4 separate regions of the Homo sapiens genome follow, and regions 1, 2 and 3 are each linked to region 4. The links are contacts of gene promoters, found by promoter capture Hi-C in blood cells and fetal thymus (Javierre and others, 2016). All regions are on one chromosome and are shown on one strand. Each heading gives the region's core, a stretch centred on a gene start or on the middle of the fragment in contact. The rest is flanking DNA. Distances are from core to core; before and after follow the strand shown.

The links. Contacts are between HindIII fragments. The CHiCAGO score rates a contact against its expected background, and 5 or more counts as called.
Region 1: a fragment that was not itself captured here is called in contact with the fragment with the promoter of ZNF142 in region 4 in 2 of 17 cell types (total CD8 T cells and naive B cells); the score reaches 5.5 in total CD8 T cells.
Region 2: a fragment that was not itself captured here is called in contact with the fragment with the promoter of ZNF142 in region 4 in 6 of 17 cell types (total CD8 T cells, fetal thymus, erythroblasts and 3 more); the score reaches 7.9 in total CD8 T cells.
Region 3: a contact is called between a fragment that was not itself captured here and the fragment with the promoter of ZNF142 in region 4, in 1 of 17 cell types (total CD8 T cells). The highest score is 5.2, in total CD8 T cells.

The regions. Positions count from the first base shown.
Region 1 is chr2:218,345,497-218,348,914 of GRCh38, forward strand. It overlaps PNKD (PNKD metallo-beta-lactamase domain containing), which reads left to right. Exons shown (of 10, transcript NM_015488.5): 10 at 1-1,297. The region is part of intron 2 of CATIP-AS2 (CATIP antisense RNA 2); the gene reads right to left. Among named protein-coding and RNA genes, the nearest start is that of MIR6810, 5.3 kb to the left of the region's middle. RefSeq lists an enhancer at 3,418. The HindIII fragment of the contact is 175 bases long and covers 1,838-2,012 here.
Region 2 is chr2:218,229,234-218,233,030 of GRCh38, forward strand. The region is part of intron 4 of ARPC2 (actin related protein 2/3 complex subunit 2); the gene reads left to right. Among named protein-coding and RNA genes, the nearest start is that of ARPC2, 14 kb to the left of the region's middle. The HindIII fragment of the contact is 1,516 bases long and covers 645-2,160 here.
Region 3 is chr2:218,160,823-218,164,280 of GRCh38, forward strand. CXCR1 (C-X-C motif chemokine receptor 1) reads right to left here. Exons shown (of 2, transcript NM_000634.3): 2 at 2,019-3,458. The coding sequence ends at 3,337. Among named protein-coding and RNA genes, the nearest start is that of CXCR1, 4.4 kb to the right of the region's middle. The HindIII fragment of the contact is 813 bases long and covers 1,702-2,514 here.
Region 4 is chr2:218,657,106-218,660,872 of GRCh38, forward strand. ZNF142 (zinc finger protein 142) reads right to left here and starts at 2,518. Exons shown (of 11, transcript NM_001379659.1): 1 at 2,264-2,518; 2 at 1,875-2,025; 3 at 1,596-1,771. It overlaps BCS1L (BCS1 ubiquinol-cytochrome c reductase complex chaperone), which reads left to right and starts at 2,578. Exons shown (of 8, transcript NM_001079866.2): 1 at 2,578-2,638. RefSeq lists enhancers at 1,642-1,761, 2,572-2,701. The HindIII fragment of the contact is 10,571 bases long and covers 1,627-3,767 here.

The DNA.
Region 1 (3,418 bases), core at 675-3,174, 310 kb before region 4:
CCCTCTTCCCACAGCCTCCCTGCCCCACCCATCCCTGCAAAGCCATTTTTCAGACAGAGCCATTCCTAAGAACACTGAAGGGCTGGAATGCTGGCTGGCCACTCTCTGCCTCAGTGGCCTCCCTACAGCCTGGAAGAAGGAGGGTCCTGATTGCCAAGGAAACCTCCTCATTGGGCTAAGGAGACACTGGAGTCTGGAGTGTGGAGCCCCACAGTCTTGCAGGTCACATGCTCTCCTTGCACATCTGGCCTGGTTGTACCCACTGGCCTCTGCCTCTGCCCTGGGCCAAAAGGGCCCCTCCTTGCCAGGGGAGAGACAGCCACGGTCCTCTTTGGCCGATGCTGTATTCTCATTTTGGCCCTTGTTCTTAGGCCCGTCTGCCCGCCTTCCTCCATCTAACCTTTCCTGTTTTATCCGCAGCCCTTTTCTTCTTTGAGTTAGTAAAGATTTATTCTGTAACCTGACACTCATCTGGCCCTTTGCAGTTTGCCAGCCATATTCCCATGTGATTTCCCACTGGATCCAGGCCCCCATCCGGCTGGCAGGAGGGGGCTCTGACGTGCAGGTTGGAAATCAGAAGTCTGTGAGAGCGCGGGAGTGCATGGCAGCTCTGGGTCCCAGACCTGGCCCGACCCCTCTGCTTCACCTCCAGCTCTGCTGCTCCTCTACTCTTGGGTCGAGATCCCTTTGGAGCCACAGCGAGGAACCCTGTGGTCCTCAGGCAGGTGTACCTTGAGTCAGCCAGGAGCCCTCTTTTCCTGTGTCAAAGCCTGCCCTCGGGCTCTGCTCACCTCTGGTGACCCTCCAAGATGCCCCTGCCCTCAGTTTCCCCTCATGATCTGGCCTCTGCCCCCTTCTCTAGCCACAGCCTCTAGTACACTTTAGCAATACCACCAGACTAGTTAGAGTTCCCCACTCACCAAGCAAGACATGCAGTTTCATGCCTCTGTGCCTTCGCTCATGCTGTTTCTTCCGACTGGAATGCCTTCCCCTGCTCCTCCTGCCTTGTCTGCCTGGCAAGTTCATCTCTCACGATCCCCTCAAAGGCCCCCTCCTCCAGGAAGGCAACCCCTGTGCCCCTCCCCTCCAGGCTACCTCTGCACTTTGTCAATGCTTCTCTTGTGGCACTTATCACACTGTATTTTACTTGTTTACATGTTTGTCTCCCCTTCTAGACTGTGAATCCTTAAGGGCATGGACTGTATCTTATGCATCTCTGTATTTCTGCGCCTAGCACGGTGCCTAGCACACAGTAGGCGCTCAATAAATGTTGAATGAATGAATGATTTAATCAAGACTTGATCACCCAACAGCTTGTCTTTGTTGCTACATGAGTGAAAACAGCAGAGAACTTTCTCACAGTTTTCCCATCTCAGTTCCAGGCCTGCTAACTTGCAGTTAGGCACTTCAAGAGTTTTGATCAGAAATGATGCCCAAAGGCTGGGCGCAGTGGCTCACACCTATAATCCCAGCTCTTTAGGAGGCTGAGGCGGGTGGATCACAAGGTCAGGAGTTCGAGACCAGTCTGGCCAACATAGTGAAACCTCATCTGTACTACAAATACAAAAAATTAGCCAGACATAGTGGCAGGAGCCTATAATCCCAGCTACTCAGGAGGCTGAGGCAGGAGAATCACGTGAACCCAGGAGGCGGAGGTTGCAGTGAGCCGAGATCGCACCACTGCACTCCAGCCTGGGCGACAGAATGAGACTCTGTCTCAAAAAAAAAAAAAATTTTTTTAAAAAGAGAGAGAGAAATGATGCCTAAAATATGTTCTTCCCAAGGCCCATGGGCATTTGTTCAGGGTTTACGATTTGCTTATCTCAATGTTTCCCAAAGCTTGAGATACACAAGTGTACCACTGGCCAAAGTAGGGTGGCTGTACATGGCCACAGCACAGCAATCAATTGGACTTCAAGGACACGGTCTTGGCACTAGTCTGTCTTTAATGTCTTTGGAAAGAAAGACCCGGGATCCAGGTTCATACTTTAGTTGGGAAATGTCTGTAGTTAAGCTTTAACAACATCGTTTTGTTTTCATTATATTTATATTTGGGTTCAATATTTATTTTTGACAAGTGACACTGGTTTTCAGTTCATAAAAATGATTAAAGGGCCGGGCGTGGTGGCTCACGCCTGTAATCCCAGCACTTTGGGAGGCTGAGGCAGGCGGATCACGAGGTCAGGAGATCACGACCATCCTGGCCAACATGGTGAAACCCCGTCTCTACTAAAAATACAAAACTTAGCAAGGCATGATGGTGAGCGCCTGTAATCCCAGCTACCCAGGAGACTGAGGCACGAGAATCGCTGAACCCGGGAGGCAGAGGTTGAAGTAGGCCAAGATCGCACCACTGTACTCCAGCCTGGGCAACAGAGGGAGATTCTGTCCCAAAAAAAAAAAAGATGAAATTTGGGTGGGGACAAAAAGCCACACCATATCATTATAATAGAACAACTTATATTCCTTTGGGTATATAACCAGTAATGGGATTGCTGGGTCGAATGGTAGTTCTGTCTTTAGGTCTTTGAGGAAACACCACACTGTCTTCCACTTTGGTTGAACAAATTTACACTCCCGCCAACAGTGTATAAGCGTTCCTTTTACTCTACAACCTTTCCAGCGTCTGTTATTTTTTGACTTTTTAATAACAGCCATTCTGACTTGTGTGAGATGGTATCTCATTGTGGTTTTGATTTGCATTTCTCTAATGATGAGTGATGTTGAGCTTTTATTCATATGTTTGTTGTCCACATGTATGTCTTCTTTTATTTATTTATTTATTTATTTTTAATTGATCATTCTTGGGTGTTTCTCGCAGAGGGGGATTTGGCAGGGTTATAGGACAATAGTGGAGGGAAGGTCAGCAGATAAACAAGTGAACAAAGGTCTCTGGTTTTCCTAGGCAGAGGACCCTGCGGCCTTCCGCAGTGTTTGTGTCCCTGGGTACTTGAGATTAGGGAGTGGTGATGACTCTTAACGAGCATGCTGCCTTCGAGCATCTGTTTAACAAAGCACATCTTGCACCGCCCTTAATCCATTTAACCCTGAGTGGACACAGCACATGTTTCAGAGAGCACAGGGTTGGGGGTAAGGTCATAGATCAACAGCATCCCAAGGCAGAAGAATTTTTCTTAGTACGGAACAAAATGGAGTCTCCTATGTCTACTTCTTTCTACACAGACACAGCAACAATCTGATTTCTCTATCTTTTCCCCGCATTTCCCCCTTTTCTATTCCACAAAACCACCATCGTCATCATGGCCCGTTCTCAATGAGCTGTTGGGTACACCTCCCAGATGGGGTGGCCGCCAGGCAGAGGGGCTCCTCACTTCCCAGAAGGGGTGGCCGGGCAGAGGCGCCCCCCACCTCCCAACGGGGCGGCGGCCGGGCGGAGGCGCCCCCAACCTCCCGGACG
Region 2 (3,797 bases), core at 153-2,652, 430 kb before region 4:
ACAAATAGCTGTCTTTTGAAATTTTTAATTAAAGCTCTTTAAAGCTACCGTCTTTAAATATCTCTTCTTTATAACTACCATAGGGGAAATAAGAAAGATGTCCAGACATTATGAAACTTCGGTGGCCATGCCTTGTTCACTGGCTTCTTTAAATAGTTAAGTAGCAGGTTTGGTTCCTGTTGAACTGTATTTGCTCTGAGGAGAGCCATTTATGGAAGAAAGAAAATGCTATTACACCAGTTTGTGCACGCTGTGGTTGGGTCTCAAAGCAGGAAATATGACTCAGTTCCTGAATCAGTTTTCAAATTTCTTAGTTTTAACAAACTAGGTTCTCCTTAATCTGTTAAATGAAGATATAACCATAGCTGTTTCTTTCTGAAAAGTAGTAGCTTTTGAATTATTTAAAACTTATATAATAAAAGATGATTTGTAAAGGAATATGGTCAAAAGCTTGTTTAATTTTTTAGCATAAAAACTAAAATTAGTCTTAATACCAAGAGCCATTGGTTGCTTCCCTTAGTTATTCAAATGCAATTGATTTTCTCATAAGTTCAAAGAAAGAAGAAATATTTAGAGGATTTGGAATCCAGATTAGTTTACTGGAAAAAGAAAAGCTTCAGAAAGAAGACCTAGTGCTTTTATAAAGCTTATGAAGAATTGTTTTGTAAAAGATAGTGGCTGACACTTCTTTACCAGATAAAGAGTGAAAGAAAACAAATGGCTATTAAAGCAGCCCTGCCTCTTTTTTTTTTTTGAGGTGGAGTCTCACTCTGTTGCCCCAGGCTGTACTGCAGTGGCGCCAGCTCAGCTCACTGCAACCTCCAACTCCTGGGTTCAAGCAGTTCATCTGCCTCAGCCTCCTGAGTAGCTGGGATTACAGGCATGCACCGCTACACCTGGCTAATTTTTTGTACTTTTCATAGAGATGGCGTTTCACCACATTGGCCAGGCTGCTCTCAAACTTCTGACCTCAGGTGATCTGCCTGCCTCGACCTCCCACAGTGCTAAGATTGCAGGTGTGAGCCACCGTGCCCAGCCTTTTCTTTTTTTTTTCTTTTTTTTTTTTTTTTTTTTTTTTGACAAGGTCTTGTTCTGTCACCTAGGCTGGAGTGCAGTGGCACAATCACAGCCACTGCACCCCTCAACCTCCCAGGCTCAAGCAGTCCTCTCACCTCAGCCTCCTGAGTGTCTGGGACTACAGGCACGTGCCACCACACCTGGCTTATTTTTTGTTTGTTTGTTCTTTAGAGAGAGGAGGTTTCACTATGTTGCCCAGGCTAGTTTCAAACTCCTGGGCTCAAGCAGTCCTCCTTCCTGGGCCTCCCAAAGTGCTGGGATTATAGATGTGAGCCACCATGTCCAGCTGCATCGCTGCTTTGGATCAGCTATAACTACCTGAAAAGAAGTGTTAAAATATTTGAATAGACTTTTTTTAAATTGTGTAATCATTCTCCCCTAGACAGTCTTCACTAGGTGCAAGCCTGCACAGTGGCACACACCTGTAGTGCCAACTGTGTGTTGGGACTTCACACAGTTGGCTTGAGGGGTTCAAGTGGGGAGAGTTGCTGGAGCCCAGGAGTTCAAGTCCAGCCTGGACGACATAGTGAGATTCCACCTCAAAAAAAGGAAAAGATCTAAATGCAATAATAATAATCCTGGAAAGAAAGAGTTAAGCTAGATTTCTTAAATCTCCTTTCCATTCTGTGCTTTTCTTACGATGGAGCTCCAGAACACATTGCTATTCTTGTAGCTACCACAAGGGTCAAAGAACCAGCCCCACCCACTCAAGTGGGTGGAGTAAGTAACATTCATAGTGTTGGAGCAGAGTGCACAGTAAATGGCTCCCTGGGTTGGTTAAACAGTGACCAACCCATGATAACCACAGGAAGGTTATTACTTTGTCACAGGCCATTTTTAAAGGTGGAATGCCTCTGCTGCTAGAGTGGGAAGGTAATGGTGATGAGTGATAGGTTGCCTCCACCCATCTCCTGGTGTCATTGGGAGAGGGGGTACAAACTGAAAAGTGAATCATGGTTAAAAGTGCAAGTGAAGTGACAAGGAAGTGTTGGCTGGTTTTACCAAGGGGAGGGAGCAAAGCAGTTGAACATGATATAAATTTGGCTCTCAGTACCTCTTAGATCTCAGAATATTAACTTAGTAAGCTTGAAATTAAACTAAATCTTAGGGACTTAGGGATTTAAACTAAATCCCCACCACATCTGATTTCCCCTTCCTCGAAATACCAATAGTACGTGCAACACAGACTTGTAGCTCAGAGGTCGCATGCTGTTTCAAATTCTTGGGATATGCATGTTACTTTTTTTTAAAGAAGTGGTATATCAGACACCTGAAGGTCAAGTCTCTCTGTGCCACCAAGAAACTCTCGTGACCTTGAGCCCCTCCTCTCAATTCCTCTTCGGTAAAAGAAATACCTCACAGTGGCTGTGCAATCACCAAATAGGAACTACAGGTGGCATTATTTATCTTTTGCCCTTGTGTAAGAAAATGTAGTCTTGCAGGTTGAAAATTTCTTCCAGCTATAGGAAAATGGTTAAATAAATATGTGGAATATTAGGAAATTATTGTTCAGCCAGGCGTGGGGGCTCATTCCTGTAATCCCAGCACTTTTGGAGGCCAAGGCAGGAGCATCGCTTGAGGTCAAGAGTTCAAGCCCAGCCTGGGCAACGTAGTGAGACCCTGTCTTTGTATATAAATAAATAAGTAGGCCAGGCGCAGTGGCTCACGCCTGTAATCCCAGCACTTTGGGAGGCCAAGACAGGTGGATTGCTTGAGGTCAGGATTTCGAGCCCAGCCTGGGCAACATGGTGAAACCCCATCTCTACTAAAAAATATAAAAATTAGCTTGGTGTGGTGGTGGACACCTGTAATCCCAGCTACTAGGGAGGCTGAGGCAGGAGAATTGCTTGAACCCAGGAGGTGGAGGTTGCAATGAGCCGAGATCACGCCACTGCACTCCAGCCTGGGTGACAGAGTGAGACTCCGTCTCAAAAAAAAAGAATTAATTAAATTAAAATAAAATGTTTGTTTCTTAAGCCATGTCATTCTGGAAGCAGTTTCCACCAGGTGAAGCAGTCACGGTGACAGAGAAAAAAATAGGGAGTCTCAGTCTGTTTTTTGTTGCTATAACAGAATACCACAGACTGAATAATTTATGAAGAAAATATGTTATTTGACTCATGTTCTGGGGACTGGGAAGTCCAAGAGCGTGGCACCAGCATCTGGCAAGGGCCTTCGTGCCCTTTCCCGTCATCCTGTAGCAAAAGGCAGAAGGGCAAGAGAGGGCCAGACTCAATTTTTTTTTTTTTTTTTTTTTTTTTGAGACGGAGTCTTGCTCTGTCACCCGGGCTGGAGTGCACCCAGGCTGGAGTGCAGTGGCGCGATCTCACCTCACTGCAAGCTCTGCCTCCCGGGTTCACGCCATTCTCCCGCCTCAGCCTCCCAAGTAGCTGGTACTACAGGCGCCTGCCACCATGCCCAGCTAATTTTTTTGTTTTTGTATTTTTAGTAGACATGGGGTTTCACTGTGTTAGCCAGGATGGTCTCAATCTCCTGACCTCGTGATCACCCCGCCTCGGCCTCCCAAAGTGCTGGGATTACAGGCATGAGCCACCATACCTAGCCCAGACTCACTTTTTTAACAGCCCCTCTTGTGAATAACAAACCAACTTCCCCTATAACAACATGAATCCATTCATGAGGGCAGAGCCCTCATGGCCTAATCACCTATTACCGTCACAGTGGCAATTAAATTTCAACATGTGGCCAGGCATGGTGGC
Region 3 (3,458 bases), core at 858-3,357, 500 kb before region 4:
AGTATTTTTGCTGGAATTAACAAGAATGGGCCAGGGGATGGAGGGCAAGGGGTGGTGAGAGGCTGTGGTTGGTCAGAAGTGGAACTGGTTTAGGGGAAAACAGTAGATTTTCACATTTTGATTTAGAGTCTCAAACGTTGTCACCAAGGCTACAAAACAAACTTTAGGATTTTAACATCAGGAAGCATTGTGCAGAACATGCCGTTACATCCTAATCCCCGTCCCTCACCTTACCCTGATGTACATCCCCTCTGTAATCCCAATCTCATCACTGACCCCTCCCATTTCTGACCCCCACTCCTGTCCTAAGATTCACCCCATCCCTAGTGCCAGCCCCATCCTGGACAAGGGAGTCCCTCCTTAAGGCAAACACTCTCCCTGGCTCTGACTGGATCTAATCCTCACCCTATCTAGTAATTGAAATATCAGTTTTTGGTACTTCAATATGCTGTTAACTAAGTACCAAAATCCTGACATTTTTTAAAAATCTGAAATCCAAATCATTTGTGTCTTGAGCTATACCCAGAAAATTACAGGCTGCATTAGAATTTCCAATCAGCCTGGGTGCAGTGGCTCACACCTGTAATCCCAGCACTTTAGGAGGCCGAAGCAGGCAGATCACTTGAGCTCAGGGGTCCAAGACCAGCCTGGGCAACGTGGCAAGACTCCATATCTACAAAAAATTTTAAAAATTATCTGGGCATAATGGCGCACAGCTCTGGTCCCAGCTACTCTGGAAACTGAGGTTGGAGGATCACCTGAACTCAGAAGGTTGAGGCTGCAGTGAGCTGTGTATGCACCACTGCACTCCAGCCTGGGTGACAGAGCAAGACCCTGTCTCATTAAAAAAAAAAAAAAAATCCAATCGAAAAATGTTGCACTTGTTTGAAGAGTCCACTATATCCCTCCCCTGTTTAAAACACTTCTGAGTTATTTTGTTGCTGTTTGAGCCTCATTTAGTTCCTAGTGAGACTGAGCATTTTTCATGAGGTTATGAGTCATTTGCATTTCCCCTGGACCCAGTGTGGATCCCTATTTACTTACTGAAGCCTCTGATGGAGTTGTCCTTGCAGGAGCATAAGGTGAAGAAGGAGGAAGTTGGACTTTGAGGAAACAGTAGGAGAGGTGGAGGGAGATCAGCGGAGGGAGGAGAGGAAAAGGAGGCCCCAGTTCTCAGCCTTCTGCCCTAGATTCTCTGTGCATCCTTTGCATCCTTCTTGTCTTCTCTGCTGAATCAGGTCTATCTCTTAGGGCTCGAGTGCCTAACTCCCTCCTCACTCACCTGCCTGGAGAGTCTTAAGCAGGACAGACTGAGGAGCCTCTGTCTTTTGGCCCCGGAAGAGGATCTTAGATGATGCTCCAGATAGGATGGTGACCCTACCAGGCACGTCTTCTGCTCCAGCCTTATAGCTACTAAGCCTTCCCTGATATTCATTCCAGGCCTGACACCCCCTCCCTGAGCCTCACCACTCCCCCACACTTATCCCATTCCAAAGTCTCACTCTCCATATCTGGTCCCAGCTCCATGTTGAATCTCCCTGTTCCCAACACCTCACTGTGACCCTGACTCTCACTCTCCCTCCTTGTAGATCTCTACCGATTCCTGGCATTCATCCTTCTCTGACCTCATCCCAAGCTGCCACCCCATCCCTGCCCCCATCCCAGCTTTGATTTCAACATCAATCACTGATCCCCATCTGAAGCTTGATCTAGGTCCTGTCTCTGAGCCTCACCCTATTCCCAACCTCAAGCCTTCCCTGATCCTTCCCCACACAGGCTAAACCCACACTCTCAGTTTTGCTTAAGCTAGTTTGACTTCTCTTTCTATCATTTGCCATCAGAAGAGCCCTGACATCTTAAGTCCTCACTTGGGACATTTTTACACAGATAAACATCTAATGAAGCTAAACCACAAAGGCAAACTTAATAAGTGGACAGACGGAGGCTGAAAGCGGAGAGGACAGACAAGAGGAGCTTTGAGCAGATGGTGTGCAAAAGAGTGGTCTTTTCAGCATGCATTCATTCCTGTGATCATTATTTATTGAGCATTTAGTAGGCTCCAGGCACCAAGGACATACAGTGAATAAACCGACAGGGCCCTGTCTCCAAGGAGGGAAAACAGACTAGGAAAAAACTGCAACTCATGGAAAGCATTTGGGGAGGGACTGGTGAGCTCACATAGCTTGAGGCAGGGCTATGCCTAGGCAAGGCCTAACCCAGAAGATGATGCTCACCTCAGGGTGAAGCTGAGACTCCCTGGAGGAGCATTTCCTTTTACTTGTGGACAAAGGGATCTTCCTTGGCCAGGGGTATGGGCATGAACAGGAGTTTCTGTGCCTCAAGAGACTGTTCTAGCAGGAGTTAAAGCCCCAGGGAACACTGCCCTTCAACCCAGAGAGGTGCCTTCTTAGGAGGTGCTGCCCCCATTCTACTGCAGGAACAGCCAACAATGCTGCACACACCCTTGACTCTGTCACAACCAAGATACTTCCACAGGGACAAGCACGGAACAGAAGCTTTATTAGGAACATCTGCCTGCCCAATGGACTGGTGGCTGCACATGGCTTTCTAGGGATGCTGATGCTGCACGCCAGCCTGGAAGCTGCAGAGGGGAAGGGCTAAGGGCTGCTTGTCTCGTTCCACTTGGGGCTCAGCAGGTGGCCAGCACATGTGTCTGCGATGTTGGTCATGGGGGTAAAGGGGGTTCTTGTGGCATAGATCTGGCTTCCAAACCCTCTTTCTCTTTGTTCATCCACCACCCCCAAGGGGAACATGTGTTTCCAGCTCCTCACAAGGCCAGCTGGCAGGTTGATGTTTTGGCAGTGCCTGCCTCAATGTCTCCAGCAGACACTGCAACACACCTGAGATGGGAAAACCACCCCCCTGAGCTCGGATCAGAGCACACAGAGCCACCAGCTTGGTGGCTCAACGCTTAACACTCAGAGTTGAGGAGATGCTCCTGTGAGGGTCAACGAGAGCATCCAGCCCTCATGAGGACACAGCTTCAGCCCTGTTCTCTCATCTAATGTCAGATTCGGGGCTCAGATGTGGCCATGCTAATTAGCCAGTTAGTGGGTTAAAGATGTGACGTTCAACGGGAATGATGGTGCTTCGTTTCCATGGAGGTGCAAAGGCCGGTCCTTGGAGGTACCTCAACAGCTCCTCAGAAGGTTGGTGTGGCCCCTGAAGACACCAGTTCCTAACTTCCCCACATCCTATAGCGTCCCCCCAAAACCCAGATAGTGCCTGTCCAGAGCCAGATCACCTTCCACACACAACCTCAGGGTGTTGGTTATTCTTTCCTTCTGAGAAGAGATATTCCTTCATCGATGGTTTTCAGAGGTTGGAAGAGACATTGACAGACGAAGAAGTGTAGGAGGTAACACGATGACGTGCCAAGAACTCCTTGCTGACCAGGCCATGCATAGCCAGGATCTTGAGGAATCCATGGCGAAAAT
Region 4 (3,767 bases), core at 1,268-3,767:
CCTTGCCTGGTCCCTTTCCCTCTTAACCTTTGATAATCTCACTATTCCTCAGCATGGATTATAAGGAAGGCCCTTCCTTCATCATCTGGCTCCTGCTGACCTCCCCTGACTCATCTCCCACTTCTCCCCTCAGCAGATCTCTGAACCAGATGATGTGCCATTCTCCAGACCCACCACATTCTCTTTTGCTTTCATACCCTCACAGCCTTTTGCGTCTCTTGGCTTGATATGCCTTTTCCCCTTCTCAATCTCTCTCTCTTATCTGGCTAACCAATTAACTATCCTTGAAGAAGCTGCACAAATGTCACTTCCACCATGAAGGCCTCCTGACATTCTTTTTTTTGAGACAGTCTTAGTCTGTCACCTAGGCTGGAGGGCAGTGGCACGATCTCAGCTCACTACAACCTCTGCCTCCTGGGTTCAAGCGATTCTCCTGCCTCAGCCTCCTGAGTAGCTGGGATTACAGGCATGTACCACCACGCCTGGCTACTATTTTGTATTTTTAGTAGAGATGGGGTTTCTCCATGTTGGTTGGGCTGGTCTTGAACTCCAGAACTCAGGTGATCCACCTGCCTCGGCCTCCCAAAGTGCTGGGATTACAGGCGTGAGGCACCGCGCCGGGCCTGGCTTCCCGAAACTCTTATCTTCTCTCTTCTGGCGTCCTAAGGGCACTCTGTACACAGCCCTATCAGAAACGAGGTCACACTGCACTGTTGTTTACCTGTCAGTCTCTCTCCCTAGATGTATAGCTTTTTTAGTAATTTGTTGACATTATCACTTCAATGATATTACTTTGTGATACTGACATTATCACTTCAACGAACACAAATCACCCACAATCGAAGATTCCAGTGAAGAACCACAGATATGGAGCTGCATTGGAGTAAAGCTAGGTATCTTGTACAAAACCAGTGGTTCCTCACCTATAACGTAACACATTTGGAGAAATTTCAAACTCATTAACTGACTATGGCCTCAAACTAAATATGGGAACATAACTGAGGAATGAATGACAATTGAATTGCATACCCTGTTATACATGGCTAAAATGAGTTTAAGCTGAATAATTAGTAATTAATAAGAATGATGGGAATCACTTCATGAAATTGAGTCACAGACAAGATGCAAAAAGAAAAAAAGAAGAAGAAACCAGGCCGGGCGCGGTGGCTCAGGCCTGTAATCCCAGCACTTTGGGAGGCCAAGGCGGGCCGATCACCTGAGGTCAGAAGTTCGAGACCAGCCTGGCGAACATTGTGAAACCCTGTTTCTACTAAAAATACAAAAAATCAGCAGGGTGTGGTGGCACACGCCTGTAATCCCAGCTACTCGGGAGGCTGAGGCAGGAGAATCGCTGGAACCCGGGAGGCGGAGGTTGCAGTGAGCCGAGATCGCACCATTGCACCCCAGCTTGGGCAACAAGAGCGAAACTCCGTCTCAAAAAAAAAACAAACAAAAACCAAGATCCTGCAATCTGATAGTCCCTATTTCCAGAATCCCATGGACTCAAAACAACAGATCACAGGGATTCACAAGGTGGCTGGAAAGTGCACTCCCGTGGTCAGAGGGATTCTCTGGAAACTGCAGCCTCCACTTACTGAATATTATCGCTGTTCTGGGGAATCTTCAAGCTTGACCATACATGGCCTCCGGGGGGAGCCAAGGAGGACGCTGAGCCGTCAAGATTAAGAACCTTCACCTGCGGGAGGGCAGGGTGAGGTAGGAGACAGGTGGGCACCAGAGAAGAAATACGCTTATCTTCCGGGCAGGAGGGCTGAGGAAGAGAAAGGACAGACTAAGGCAGAGAGAAGGCCTGGAGAAACAACGGGCCCCGGCCTAGCGACCCAGGTTCCCACCTGCCTCTGGCTCTGACTCACCGCGTGGTCTTGGACAGACACAGTCGCTTCGCTTCTCTGGGCCTCAGCTTTCCTATCTGTAAAATGGAGGTGATGACAGTGTCCACATCGTCGGGCAGGAGCTGGATCATAAGAGCCAGCGAACTGGAAAGGCGGTTTGTAACCTGGAAGGCTTGGGATGGAGCATCGTCATGATTTTGTCCTGAGAGCAGCAGGTACCCGGGCGGGGTCCAGAACCGTGACGCGACTGCAGCGCCGGGGCCCAGCTCGTCTGGGTGCTCCCTTCAGTACCTCCTTCCGAGAGTTCCCAGCGCCCAGGCCCACCCTGATCCCGGGGCTCGAAAAACTTTGCCTCCAGCTCGCTCCACCCGCATTCCCTTCCCAGTTCCGCCCCGCAGCCGCTCACTCACCTCCAGACCCAGAGCCGGCGGGAGCCGCATCTCTATGGTCGGCCGCGGCTGGAACGGCCCCCGGGGCCCGCTTTGTGCGACCGCCTCCGGCTCAGCCGCCTCTAGGATATTGGGGATGTGGAAGCCACTCTCTCTTCCTCTTGCCGGCTGCCGGGGTACTCTATGTTTTGTCTCTGTGGTTTTTCCCGCCCTCCACCCCCACTCCAGCCCTGAAGCCGGAGAAGCACCATCGAGAGCTCTGGGGTAGAGTGGCGTGGGCTTCTCTGTGGGTGTGGCGGGAAGTAGATGAAAGGACCCGGGGCGGGGCCGAACGCAGCTTCCCCAAGGTGCAGGCGCGGTGAAACCATCGAGACGGAGGGCCAGAGAGTCACGGCGGTGAGAGGGCTGAGTGACGGGTTACCCCAAACCATGTGGCTGGAGGCGCGAGCTGGGGTGTGGGCGAGGTTCAGGAGGGGGTTCCTGGGTGTCGCGGAGGGGCCGGGGACGGGAGAGCTTTGTCTGTGGCCTTCCATGCATAGGTGTTTTGGAATTCTGGATCCCAGTTCTGAGGCTCAGCCGAGGTCACTGCTGTCAGCTCACCTCCCTGCATGCCAGGCGCAGGGCAAAGTGGCCGGGGTTCGGGGTTGGAGGAGAGGTGTACTAGAAACAACTTTGCTCTTGTCCCTCAGGATCTTATTGTCTACGATGTGACGATCCGTGGAGAAAGTAGCAGATGGGCAGATTTTCATTTGGGGAGAATGAGGGAGAAAAGAACGGGCATTCCGAGCCAAGAGCACTGCATGAGCAAGGAGTTGGGAGGTTGCTTACTTGTTGAACATATTTGTTGCGTATTTGCATATTTGCTAAACAGGTAGTGTTAGGAGCTAATCCATGAAAGGTAGGTGGGCGCCGTATTGTAGAGAGCCTTGAGTACCAGGCTGAGTTTATACCCAATTCAGGGGTCTGCTGGGAGCCAGCCATTGAAGGTGCTGGAGCAGAGAGAGATATGGTATTGGAGCTGATCCCTATGATGAAAGATCTGGACCCTTGTGTAGATGTTCCGTGAAGCAGGAGGTGAAGACCTATTAAAATGCCATTTCAAGAACTACGATTTTAAAGACAGTTTAGGTGGGAGGTAATAAAGGTCTAAACAAGACGTTAAATATTGGGGACGTAAGGGGGAGGATATTTGAAGGACATTACTCATAACAAGACATAGGGTTACTGACAAGTCAACGGACGCTTCTCCCTTGCTGACTGCAGCCAATGGACCCCTTTTTATCATAGCTGGTCCCAGGGACCACAAAAATCCTGTCCATCCATTACCCTGATGTGAAGCCTGTTTATATAGCTCTTTTTGGTTTAAGGCATCTCCAGACATGGTCCTCTGGTAGGAAACAGGTATGAGTAGACTAATGAAGGACAAAATGGGATGAGGGACCTGGAGCCTCCACCCTTGCATTCCAATACCACCCTTACCCCACAAAAGGAGGGTATTGACCCACACAGTAATGCTGACCTGTGG